Linked DNA regions of Homo sapiens: all the other regions are linked to region 4. Evidence: promoter capture Hi-C in 16 types of primary human blood cells and fetal thymus (Javierre and others, 2016). All regions are on one chromosome and are shown on one strand. Each heading gives the region's core, a stretch centred on a gene start or on the middle of the fragment in contact. The rest is flanking DNA. Distances are from core to core; before and after follow the strand shown.

What was found. The method cuts DNA at HindIII sites, captures the fragments that hold promoters and counts their contacts. A CHiCAGO score of 5 or more calls a contact.
Region 1: a fragment that was not itself captured here is called in contact with the fragment with the promoter of APEX2 in region 4 in 1 of 17 cell types (monocytes); the score reaches 5.1 in monocytes.
Region 2: a fragment that was not itself captured here is called in contact with the fragment with the promoter of APEX2 in region 4 in 1 of 17 cell types (monocytes); the score reaches 9.0 in monocytes.
Region 3: a contact is called between a fragment that was not itself captured here and the fragment with the promoter of APEX2 in region 4, in 1 of 17 cell types (monocytes). The highest score is 6.5, in monocytes.

The regions. Positions count from the first base shown.
Region 1 is chrX:54,629,221-54,631,964 of GRCh38, forward strand. It overlaps a transcript of GNL3L not described here. Among named protein-coding and RNA genes, the nearest start is that of GNL3L, 100 kb to the left of the region's middle. The HindIII fragment of the contact is 2,875 bases long and covers 1-2,744 here.
Region 2 is chrX:54,647,763-54,650,462 of GRCh38, forward strand. No RefSeq gene overlaps it. Among named protein-coding and RNA genes, the nearest start is that of GNL3L, 120 kb to the left of the region's middle. The HindIII fragment of the contact is 1,909 bases long and covers 308-2,216 here.
Region 3 is chrX:54,515,288-54,518,025 of GRCh38, forward strand. No RefSeq gene overlaps it. Among named protein-coding and RNA genes, the nearest start is that of GNL3L, 14 kb to the right of the region's middle. The HindIII fragment of the contact is 7,138 bases long and covers 1-2,738 here.
Region 4 is chrX:54,998,915-55,001,614 of GRCh38, forward strand. It overlaps APEX2 (apurinic/apyrimidinic endodeoxyribonuclease 2), which reads left to right and starts at 1,449. Exons shown (of 6, transcript NM_014481.4): 1 at 1,449-1,665; 2 at 2,632-2,700. The coding sequence starts at 1,509. RefSeq lists a silencer at 1,330-1,469. The HindIII fragment of the contact is 4,396 bases long and covers 1-2,164 here.

The sequences.
Region 1 (2,744 bases), core at 121-2,620, 370 kb before region 4:
TGACTTCCTTTTTATCAATTTGGATGTCCTTTATTTCTTTCTCTTGTCTGATTGCTCTGGCTAGGACTTCAAGTACTATGTTGAATAGAAGTGGTGAAAGTGAGCATCCTTGCCTTGTTCCAGTTCTCAGAGAGAATGCTTTCAACTTTTCCCCATTCAGTGTAATGTGGGCTGTGGGTTTGTCATAGATGACTTTTATTACACTAAGGTATGTCCCTTGTATGCCGATTGTGCTGAGGTTTTAATAATAAAGGGATGCTGGATTTTGTCAAATGCTTTTTCTGTGTTTATTGAGATGATCATGTGATTTTTGTTTTTAATTCTCTTTATGTGTATTACATTTATTGACTTGTATATATTAAACTATCCCTGCATTCCTGGTATAAAACCCACTTGATCATGGTGGATTATCTTTTTGATATGCTGTTGGATTTGGTTAGCTAGTATTTTGTCAAGAATTTTTGCATCTATGTTCATCAGGGATATTGGTCTGTAGTTTTCTTTTTTGGTTATGTCCTCTCCTGGTTTTGGTATTAGGGTGATACTGGCTTCATAGAATGATTTAGGGAGGATTTCCTTTACTCTATCTTTTGCAATAGTTTCAGTAGGATTGGTACCAATTCTTTGACTGTCTGATCGAATTCAGCTGTGAATGCATTTGGTCCTCTACTTTTTTTTGTTGGCAATTTTTTATTTTCATTTCAATCTCACTGCTTGTTATCAGTCTATTCAGAGTTTATATTTCTTCCTGGTTTAATCTAGAAGGGTTGTATGTTTCCAGGTATTTATCCATTTCCTCTAAGTTTTCTAGTTTGTGCATGTAAAGGTGTTCATAGTAGCCTTGAATGATCTTTTGTATTTTTGTGGTATCAGTTGTAATATCTCCCTTTTCATTTCCAATTGAGCTTATTTGGATCTTCTGTCTTCTTTTCTCGGTGAATCTCATTAATGGTCTATCAATTTTGTTTATCTTTTCAAAGAACCAGCTTTTTGTTTCATTTATCTTTTGTATTTTTTTGTTAAAATTTTATTTAGTTCTGCTCTGATCTTTCTTACTTCTTTTCTTCTGCTGGGTTTGGGTTTGGTTTGTTCTTGTTTCTGTAGTTCCTTGAGGTGTGACCTTAGCTTATCTATTTGTGCTTTTTCTGACTTTTTGATGTAGGCATTTAATGCTATGAACTTTCCTCTTAGCACCACTTTTGCCATGTCCCAGAGGTTTTGATAGGTTGTGTCACTATTATTGTTCAGTTCAAAGAACATTTTAATTTCCATCTTGATTTCATTGTTGACTCAAAGATCATTTAGGAGCAGATTATTTAATTTCCATGTATTTGCATGGTTTTGAGGGTTCTTTTTGGAGTTGATTTCCAATTTTGTTCCACTGTAGTCTGAGAGAGTACTTGGTATAATTTCGATTTTCTTTTGTTTTCTTTTCTCCTTCTTTCCTTCCTTCCTTCCTTCCTTCCTTCCTTCCTTCCTTTCTTTCTTTTTCTTTCTTTCTTTCTTTCTTTCTTTCTTTCTCTTTCTTTCCCTTTCTTTCCCTTTCTTTCTTTCTCTTTCTTTCTTTCTTTCTTTCTTTTCTCTCTCTCTCTCTCTTTCTTTTTTGAGACAGAGTGTCACTTTGTCACCCAGGCTGGAGTGCAGGGCACAATATTGGCTCACTGTAACCTCTGCCTCCTGGGTTCAAGTGATTATCCTGCCTCAGCCTCCTGAGTAGCTGGGATTACAGGCGTCCATCACCACTCCCGGCTAATTTTTATATTTTTAATAGAGATGGGGTTTCACCATGTTAGCCAGGCTGGTCTCTAACTCCTGACCTCAGGCGATCCACCCGCCTCAGCCTTCTAAAGTGCTGGGATTACAGGCATGAGCCACCTCTCCTAGCCTAATTTCAATTTTCTTAAATGTATTGAGACTTGTTTTGTGGCCTATCATATGGTCTATCTTGGAGAATGTTTCATGTGCTGATGAATAGAATGTGTATTCTAAAGTTGTTGGGTAGAATGTTCTGTAAATATCTGTTAAATCCATTTGTTCAAGGGTATAGTTAAAGTACATTTTTTCTTTGTTGACTTTCTGTCTTGATGACCTGTCTAGTGCTGTCAGTGGAGTATCAAAGTCCCTCACTATTACTATGTTGCCATCTATCTCATTTCTTATCTAGTAGTATCTAACAAATACTACTAGGTCTAGTAGTAATTGTTTTATAAATTTGGGAGCACTTATATATAAAAGTGCATATATATTTGGGATTGTGATATTTTCCTGTTGGACTAGTCCTTTTATCATTATGTAATGTCCCTCTTTGTCTTTTTTAACTGTTTTTGCTTTAAAGTCTGTTTTGTCTGATATAAGAATAGCTACTCCTGCTCGCTTTTGGTGTTCTTTTGCATGGAATATCTTTTTCCAACCCTTTACCTTAAGTTTATGTGAAACCTTATGTGTTAGGTGAGTCTCTTGAAGACAGCAGGTACTTGATAGGTGAATTCTTATCCATTCTGCCATTCTGTATCTTTTAAGTGGAGCATCTAGGCCATTTACATTCAATGTTAGTATTGAGATGTGAGGTACTATTCTATTCATCATGCTGTTGTTGCCCGAATATCTTGTTTGTTTTTCCATTGTGTTATTGTTTTATAGGCCCTGTGAGATTTATGCTTTAAGGAGGTTCTATTTTTGGTGTATTTTGAGGTTTGGTTTCAAGATTTAGAACTCCTTATAGCAGTTCTTGCAGTGCTTGCTTA
Region 2 (2,700 bases), core at 12-2,511, 350 kb before region 4:
ATTTGCATTTCTCTGATGACATATGATGTTGAGCATTTTTTCATATGCTTGTTTGCCATCTGTGTATCTTTCTTGGTGAGTCATCTCTTCAGATCTTTTGTCCCAATTTTAATTGCTTCCTTTTTTTTATAGTTGAGTTTTAAGAGTTCTTTGTATATTTTGGATGTAAGTTCTTTATTAGAAGTATTTTGCAAGTATTTTTTCCTAGTCTGTGGCTTTTGTTTCATTTTCTTTACAGTGTCTTCCTGTGTCTATGGTTGAATATATGTTATTAATTTTGAAAAATTCTCAATCATTATTACTTCAAAGCTTTAGTTTGTCTCTTTCTCTATTTGCCTTTTGGTATTCCCAATATGCATATGTTACCCTTTTTGTAATTGTCCCACAGTTCTTGGATATTTTGTTTCATTTTTCTAATTCCTTTTTCTCTTTGTATTTCCATCTTGGAAATTTATATTGGCATATCTTCAAGCTCACTGATTCTTTCCTTGGCTAGGTCCAGTCTATTGATGTGCCCATCAAAGGAATTCTTTATTTCTCTTATGGTGTTTCTGATTTCTAGCATTTCCTTTTGATTTTTTTTCTTAGAGTGTCCATCTGCCTGCTTGCTTCACCTATCCATTTTTGCATATTGTCCACTTTTTCCATTAGAGCCCTTAGCATATTAACAGTAGTTAATCTAAAGTCCTGATCTGATAATTTCAAAATATCTGCCATATCTAAGTCAGGTTCTGATGCTCACTCTGTCCCTTCAAACTGTGTTTTATTTTTTAGTATGCCTTGTAATTTTTTTGTTTAAAGCTAGACATGATGCAATGGATAAAAGTAACTTGGTACTGGTTCCAGTGGTAGGCTTCTGCTCCAGTAAGCTGTGATTTTCTGTATTTGCTTATAGCTCCAATTTTTGGAGTAGCAGTTTGCCCTGTGACCTCAATGCCTTGATAGACCTAAGAAGAGTTGTTTAGTTTCAGCTTGTTCAGATTTTTTCTTATTGTGAGGACAGAGGCAACAACTTCCAAGCTCCTTCTGTGTTGGACTAAGAGTTCTTACTTATTTGTTATTTGTTAACATCGTTTATTTTAAAAACAGCTTTATTGAAGTATTATTTACATACATTTAACTGCACCCATTTAAAATGTGCAATTTCATCAGTTTTAATATATATATCATAAGACAATCACTATATTTAAGATAAAGAACATAATTATGCTGGGCGCAGTGGCTCACACCTGTAATCCCAGCACTTTGGAGGCCGAGGGGTGTGGATCACCTGAGGTCAGGAGTTTGAGACAAGCCTGGCCAACATGGTGAAAACCCGTCTCTACTAAAAATACAAAAATTAGCCAGGCATGGTGGCAGGTGCCTGTAGTCCCAGCTACTTGGGAGACTGAGGCACGAAAATCGCTTGAACCCAGGAGGTGGAGGTTGCAGTGAGCTGAGATCGTGCCACTGCACTCCAGCCTGTGCGACAGAGCCAGATTTCATCTAAAAAAAAAAAAAAGATAAAGAACATAATTATTATTTCTCAAAATTTCTTATTTCCCTTTGTAAATCTTTCCTCTTGCTCTACTACACTTTCCCAAGGTTTATTAATTTGTTTTCTGTTACAATAGACTAGTTTGCATTTTCTAGAGTTTTATAATCTGGATTTTTTCATTCAGTATAAATATTTTGAGATTAATTGAGTTTGTTGTGTGTATAAATAATTCATTTCTACATATTACTGAATAGTATTCCATTGTATGACCATACCAAATTTGTTTACCCATTCACTTGTGGATTGATATTTAGGTTGTTTCTAGCTTTTGATTATTACAAACACAGCTGTTATGAACAAGTGGACATTTGGTGGACATTTTGTGGACATTTGGTTATTTCTCTTGAATAAATTCCAAGGAGTAGAATGGCTTGTTTATATGGTAGGTGTATGTTTCATTTTTAAAGAAATTATAATTCTTACATATAAATACAACATTCTCCAAGATGGAGTACATGTTTGTCACAAGATGGGTCTTAACAACTTTAAGAAGATTGTTATCATACCAAATATCTTTTCTGACAATAGTGGAAGGAAATTACAACTCAGTAGCAGTGGGAAATCTGGAAAATTCACAAATATGTGGAAACTAAACAGCACATTTTTGAAAAACCAATGGGTCAAAGAAGAGATCCAAATTAGAAAATATCTTGAAACAAACAAAAATACAACATACCAAAGCTTATAGGATGCAGCAAAACCTATACTAAGAGGTAAGTTTATAAATACCTACATTAAAAAAGAAGAAAAGAAGAGGGACAGTACAAGATGGCAGAATAGAAGGCTCCACCAATAGTCCCCCATACAAGGACATGATTTAACAATTATCTATGCAAACAAAGTACTTTCAGTACTTTCAGTACTTTTCAGGTGAGTACTCACAGTACTCGATTTTAACATCACGTCACTGAAAGAGGCATGGAAGAGGGTAGGAAAGAGTCTTGAATTGCTGCTGCCACTTATCCCCCATCCCTTGGCAGCTGGTGCATGGCATGAAGAGAGAATCTGAGCACTTGGGAGAGGGTGAGTGCAGCAATTGTGAGACATTGCAGGGAACTCAGTGCTGCCTTTTCATAGCAGAAAGCAAAACCAGGCTGCACTCAGCTGATGCCCACCCACAGAGGGAGTATTTAAACCAGTCCTAGCCAGAGGGGAATTGCCCA
Region 3 (2,738 bases), core at 51-2,550, 480 kb before region 4:
AAAAGTTAAAATAAAGGAGTTAGAAAATAGATAACAGTAGGACTAATAAATGAGTGGGTTGATTCTGTAAAAAAGAATTATATAAGCTATTAGATAACATAATCAGGAAAAGGAGAAAGCACAAATATACAAAATAAATGAAAAGTTGCACATAACTATAGTAAGAAGACATTTTAAATATCACAAAACACAACTCTATAGAAATTGTTCAAAGAACTGAAGAAATGGATAATGTCCTAGGAAAATATAATTTACAAACTGACCCTAAAAGACAAGTCCATGTAGATCAATTTTCTTTTCTTTCTTTCTTTTTTTTTTTTGAGATGGCATTTCGCTCTTGTTGCCCAGGCTGGAGTGCAATGGCACGATCTCGGCTCACCGCAACCCCTGCCTCCCGGATTCAAGCGATTCTCCTGCCTCAGCTTCCCGAGTAGCTGGGATTATAGGCATGCACCACCAAGCCTGGATAATTTTGTATTTTTAATAGAGACAGGGTTTCTCCGTGTTGGTCAGGCTGGTCTTGAGCTCCCAACCTCATGTGATCCACCCGCCTCAGCCTCCCAAAGTTTTGGGATTACAGGCGTGAGCCACCGCGCCTGGCCTTGTAGCTCAATTTTCATGGAAATAGACAAAGTTATAAAGAGCTCCCCAATTCCTCAAAGCACCAGATAGAGCAAGATCCTTTCACAAGGGGAAGTCTTTTCACACTAAAAAGCAGATAATTCAAATACTATTCTTATTTTCCTGAGCCTAAGGAAGGAACACTTTAGAAATGTTTTTATCAAGTGAATAATAACACTGATACCAAGATCTGACAAAGATTCCACAAGAAAAAGAAAACCATATAGACTAATTCTCACTTAGGAATATCGGCACAATATCCTAAATATTAACAAATAGAATCCATGACTGTGTGGGTTTTAATTGCAGGAATGCAAGAATTGTTCAATATTAGGAAATCCATTAATATAATCTAACCTATTATTAGATCTAAGTAAAAAAATCCTATCATTTTATTCAGAGATACCAAAGAGTTGTTTGTCAAAACTCAACACCCATTCTTTTATTTTTCTTCTCCTTCAGTAACTTTGGTATCAATACCCATTCTTTATAAAAACATTCAATAAAAGAGGAATATGTGGTTTCTTCCCTGATATATATTTTATCTCATTCTCTATAGATAGATAGATCCCCCAAATCCAGCATTTCACTTAACCAGGAAATACCACCAGTATTTATATGCTAAAATCAGAAACCAACTAAGGGTACCTACTCTCTCCACTACAATTTAGCATTTTATTGGAGGTTGTCTGGGCACTGTGGCTCACGCCTGTAGTCCTAGCACTTTGGCAGGCCAGGGCAGGTGGATTGCTTGAGGCCAGGAGTTTGAGACCAGCCTGGCCAACATGGTAAAACCCCATCTCTACTAAAGTTACAAAAATTAGCTGGGTGTGGTAGTGCACACCTGTAATCCCAGCTACTCAGGAGGCTGGGGCATGAGAATCACTTGAGCCTGGGAAGTGGAGGTTGCAGTGAGCCAAGATCGTGCTACTGCCCTGTGGCCTGGGTGAGAGAGAGAGACTCTGTCTTAAAAACAAAAAAACAAAAAAAAATTGCATTGGAGGTAGTAATCATTACAATTAGAAAAGAGAAATAAATTAAATATACAATTGAAATGGAAGAAGTAAAGCTATCACCATTTATAGATGATCAGATTGTACAGCCACAAAACCCAAACAAACCAATAGAGAAACTACTACAAACAAGAGAATTCTGTAAGGTAGCAGGATATAAAATTAATATATAGAAATCATTCAGTTAGAAGATATATGGAAGAGAAGGCTCCATTTATTAGAGCAACAAAAAAGATAAAATACCTATAAACAACCTTAACAAGAAATGTCTAAAACCTTAATGAGAAACATTCATAACACTCTGAAGGAACTAATGGAAAGGCATGCCACGTTCTCAGATGGGAAGACTTAAAATCATAAAGATGTCAAATTAATTTATAAATTTAGTATAAGCCCATTATCATTTTTTGGCTGCGCACGGTGGCTCACGCCTGTAATTCCAGCACTTTGGGAGGCCGAGGTGGGCAGATCACGAGGTCAGGAGTTCGAGACCAGCCTGGCCAATATGGCGAAACCCTGTGTGTACTAAAAATACAAAAATTAGCTGGGTGTGGTGGTGGGCGCCTGTAATTCCAGCTACTTGGGAGGCTGAGGAAGAAGAATCGCTTGAAGCCAGCAGGCAGAGGTTGCAGAGAGCCGAGATCGCACCACTGCACTCCAGCCTGGGCGACAGAGCGAGACTCTGTTTCAAAAAAAAGCATATCATTTTTTTTTTTTCTGAAACTAGACAAGCTGATTCTAAGTTCATATGGAAAAATAACAAGCAAGCATAGCCAGCATATCTCTGAAAAGAAAGAACGATGATGGGGGACTACTGCCACAATAATGCTGTGTTGTAAACCAAAGTGAATAATTATGTACCAAAACTCAGACAGAGTCTATGGGTCAGCTGGGAGGTTCTATGATCTGGACTAGGCTGTGTTAATCTCAACTGGGCTAGCTTATGTGTCTGCACCCAGTTGGTGGCTTGGCTGGAGGTTGGTTGGCTGCTATAGGACACACTGTCTGGGATGACCAAGCTCATTTCTACTTGTCTCTCACATCTCTCCAGGAGGCTAGTCTGAATATGTTCTCACAGCTGCGGCAGGGGTCCAAGAGAGGAAG
Region 4 (2,700 bases), core at 199-2,698:
GCATGAAGAAGCTCAGGACATGCAAATTTTTATTTTAATCACAGAGCTATTTTCTGATAGCAACAACTGGTAACCTTTTAAGTCCTCCAGGAGGAAAAGCAGTTTACTGCGTCTTTGCTGTAACCATTGAGGATGATGGCTCTAAGACTTAAATTCTGGGGAACAAATAATTATGCTGCAATTCTGGGTGAGGAACCTAAAGATGCATCGTTATGCTTTTCCCTGGACATTGGGCATATCCATTACTTCTAATTTTTGTGCTCTCAAAAACAAGCCATGAACCTGTCGATGCTCTTGCTATTATCCTTTGTTCATTCATTCACCTGACAAATATCTATTGCTTCCCAACATATGCTGTGTCCAGTATTAGGGGATGGGGCTAACAAGATGAACCAGACATGGTCATTGCTCTCAAGTTGCTGGCATTCTAATGGCAGCAGAAATAGAAGTCAATGATAGCTGTGTATTATAAGTACTGTGACAGAATGGACCATAGGGTGCCGTGGGGCCCCAGAGGAAAAGACTTAACTGGGGAGGTGTGTGGTCAGTAAAAACACTCAGAAAAGTAATTATTGAGCTAATTAAGACAGGGTGTGAATCCTGGCTCTACTACTTCAGTGTAAGAGAGAGTGAACTGTGAGAATGAAATGAATTCATTCGACGTCTCTAACTTAGCCTCCATGTCCCGAACTGGGTTGTCTTGAGAATGAAATGAGATAACATATACAGAAGAGCCATGGATGCATCCGGAGACAATGCTGCTCACGAGCTTACATTTCCTGGGCTTCGATTTCACTTATCTGAGAAACAGAACCAAGAGTAAGGATGTGTCCGGCTACATCCTTCAGAATGTTAAGAGCCAAGACAAAAGCTACAGGGCAGGCTTGAGACAGCCTCCTCCTCCTCCCCTCTGCCCCAATAAAGCCAAAGGCCCTCCTCCTAAGTCTTATCTCAGTGGAGCGACTCTTACTGCTCCCTCCTCCAACCATGAACTTCCCTTTGCCCAGTCCAACGCGAGCACTTAGCGCCAGCTATTCCTGGGGCGCAAGCGCTGCAGCCATCTGTGAACTTAGGTGGGCGGTCCGCCGCACTGAGGGCGGGGCTTTGGCAGCTGAGCAGTTCCGCTCAGGGTTCCGTCGCTTAAAAAGTGGCAAAATGCCGTTTGTAAGTAACCGGACGCACCACTTGGACTTCTGAGTAGAGGAAAAACGCATTGAGACTCAGCTGTCCGAGCGGAAGGAGCGGGAGCCCAACTGGAAACTCCTCTCGCCATTCATTGCCCCTAGGCTTCCGCTTTGCTTCCTTCAGCGTCCACCCAGTTCCTCCTCCCGCCAATGAGAGCTGAGGAAGTTGAAGCCCCCGCCCGACGTGCGTCAGGCGCTTTAGTGGTACGCACGAGAACGCCTGCGCAAACGCGCGCGGGAGGCGGGCCTGGCCAACTTCTGAACAGGAAGCAGTTCGCTCGCGCCTAGGTTGGCGCGGGCTGGGAGGTGTTCCAGCCCTTTAAGATGTTGCGCGTGGTGAGCTGGAACATCAATGGGATTCGGAGACCCCTGCAAGGGGTGGCAAATCAGGAACCCAGCAACTGTGCCGCCGTGGCCGTGGGGCGCATTTTGGACGAGCTGGATGCGGATATCGTCTGTCTCCAGGAAACCAAAGTGACCAGTGAGCGCTCTGGATTCCAGGATCCCTACATACTTTTTCTTTCCCGCTAACTTTTGTCCCCTGTCCCATGTAATTTTACTTTCCCAGTTTCCTATTCTTAGAGTCCTGTCCTTAGACCCAGGTCCCTTCCCTCTTAAACTTCCATTTCCCACCCTAGCTAGATCCCCTAATTGCACTCCATCTCCTGTCTTCAGCAAACTTTAGCTCCTTCTCGAAACCCCATATCTAGTCAGATTCCCACTCATTCTCCGGCCCCAAACTCAGTCCCCTGAATTTCCTCCTTCCATACGCTGTCCATCTCCCCGCCGCCAAGTCAAACCCCCGAATTCTTCATCCCTGCCCCAAGCTCAGATCCTCTAATTCCCACCCCATCTTTGACCCCAGCTCAGTCTAATTTCCTCTTTTTCACATTTCCACCTCAGAACCCCAGTACCCCTTATCTATTCCCATCTCTCCTCCCAGCGGAAAGTCCCTAATTCCCACCTCATTTCCCACCCCAAGCTTAGATGTCCTCTTATTTCTTCACCCTCTTATCTCCCCTCAGAATCCCCTAATTCCTTTTCCCTCCACCCCCAGTTCAGATCCCCTAATTCCCTCTCTCTTACCTCTCACCCTTAGCTCAGATTCCCACCATCCTCTCGTATGTCCATCCCCATCCCCAGCTTCCTCCTATCGTTCAGACCCCCAGGCTTAGCTCTGATTCTTTCCCCTTCCCACCTAATTCTCCACCTCCACTTCATAGTCTCTAACCGCCCCCCACCAAGCCTTCTAATTCTGATATCAATTTCCTCTCTGACATTTCCCATCTTTCTAGGTCCTCCTCTAATCATGGATATTTCATTCCCGTCACCCCCAACTCTGGCTCTGATGTGTGCAAGGAATTAGCCTACAACTGTAATTCCAGGCCTTTGTGTTTCTCGGATGCTAGTTTTACCTCTGACTTAATCTTACATTTTTTTTTTCCAGGGGATGCACTGACAGAGCCCCTGGCTATCGTTGAGGGTTATAACTCCTATTTCAGCTTCAGCCGCAACC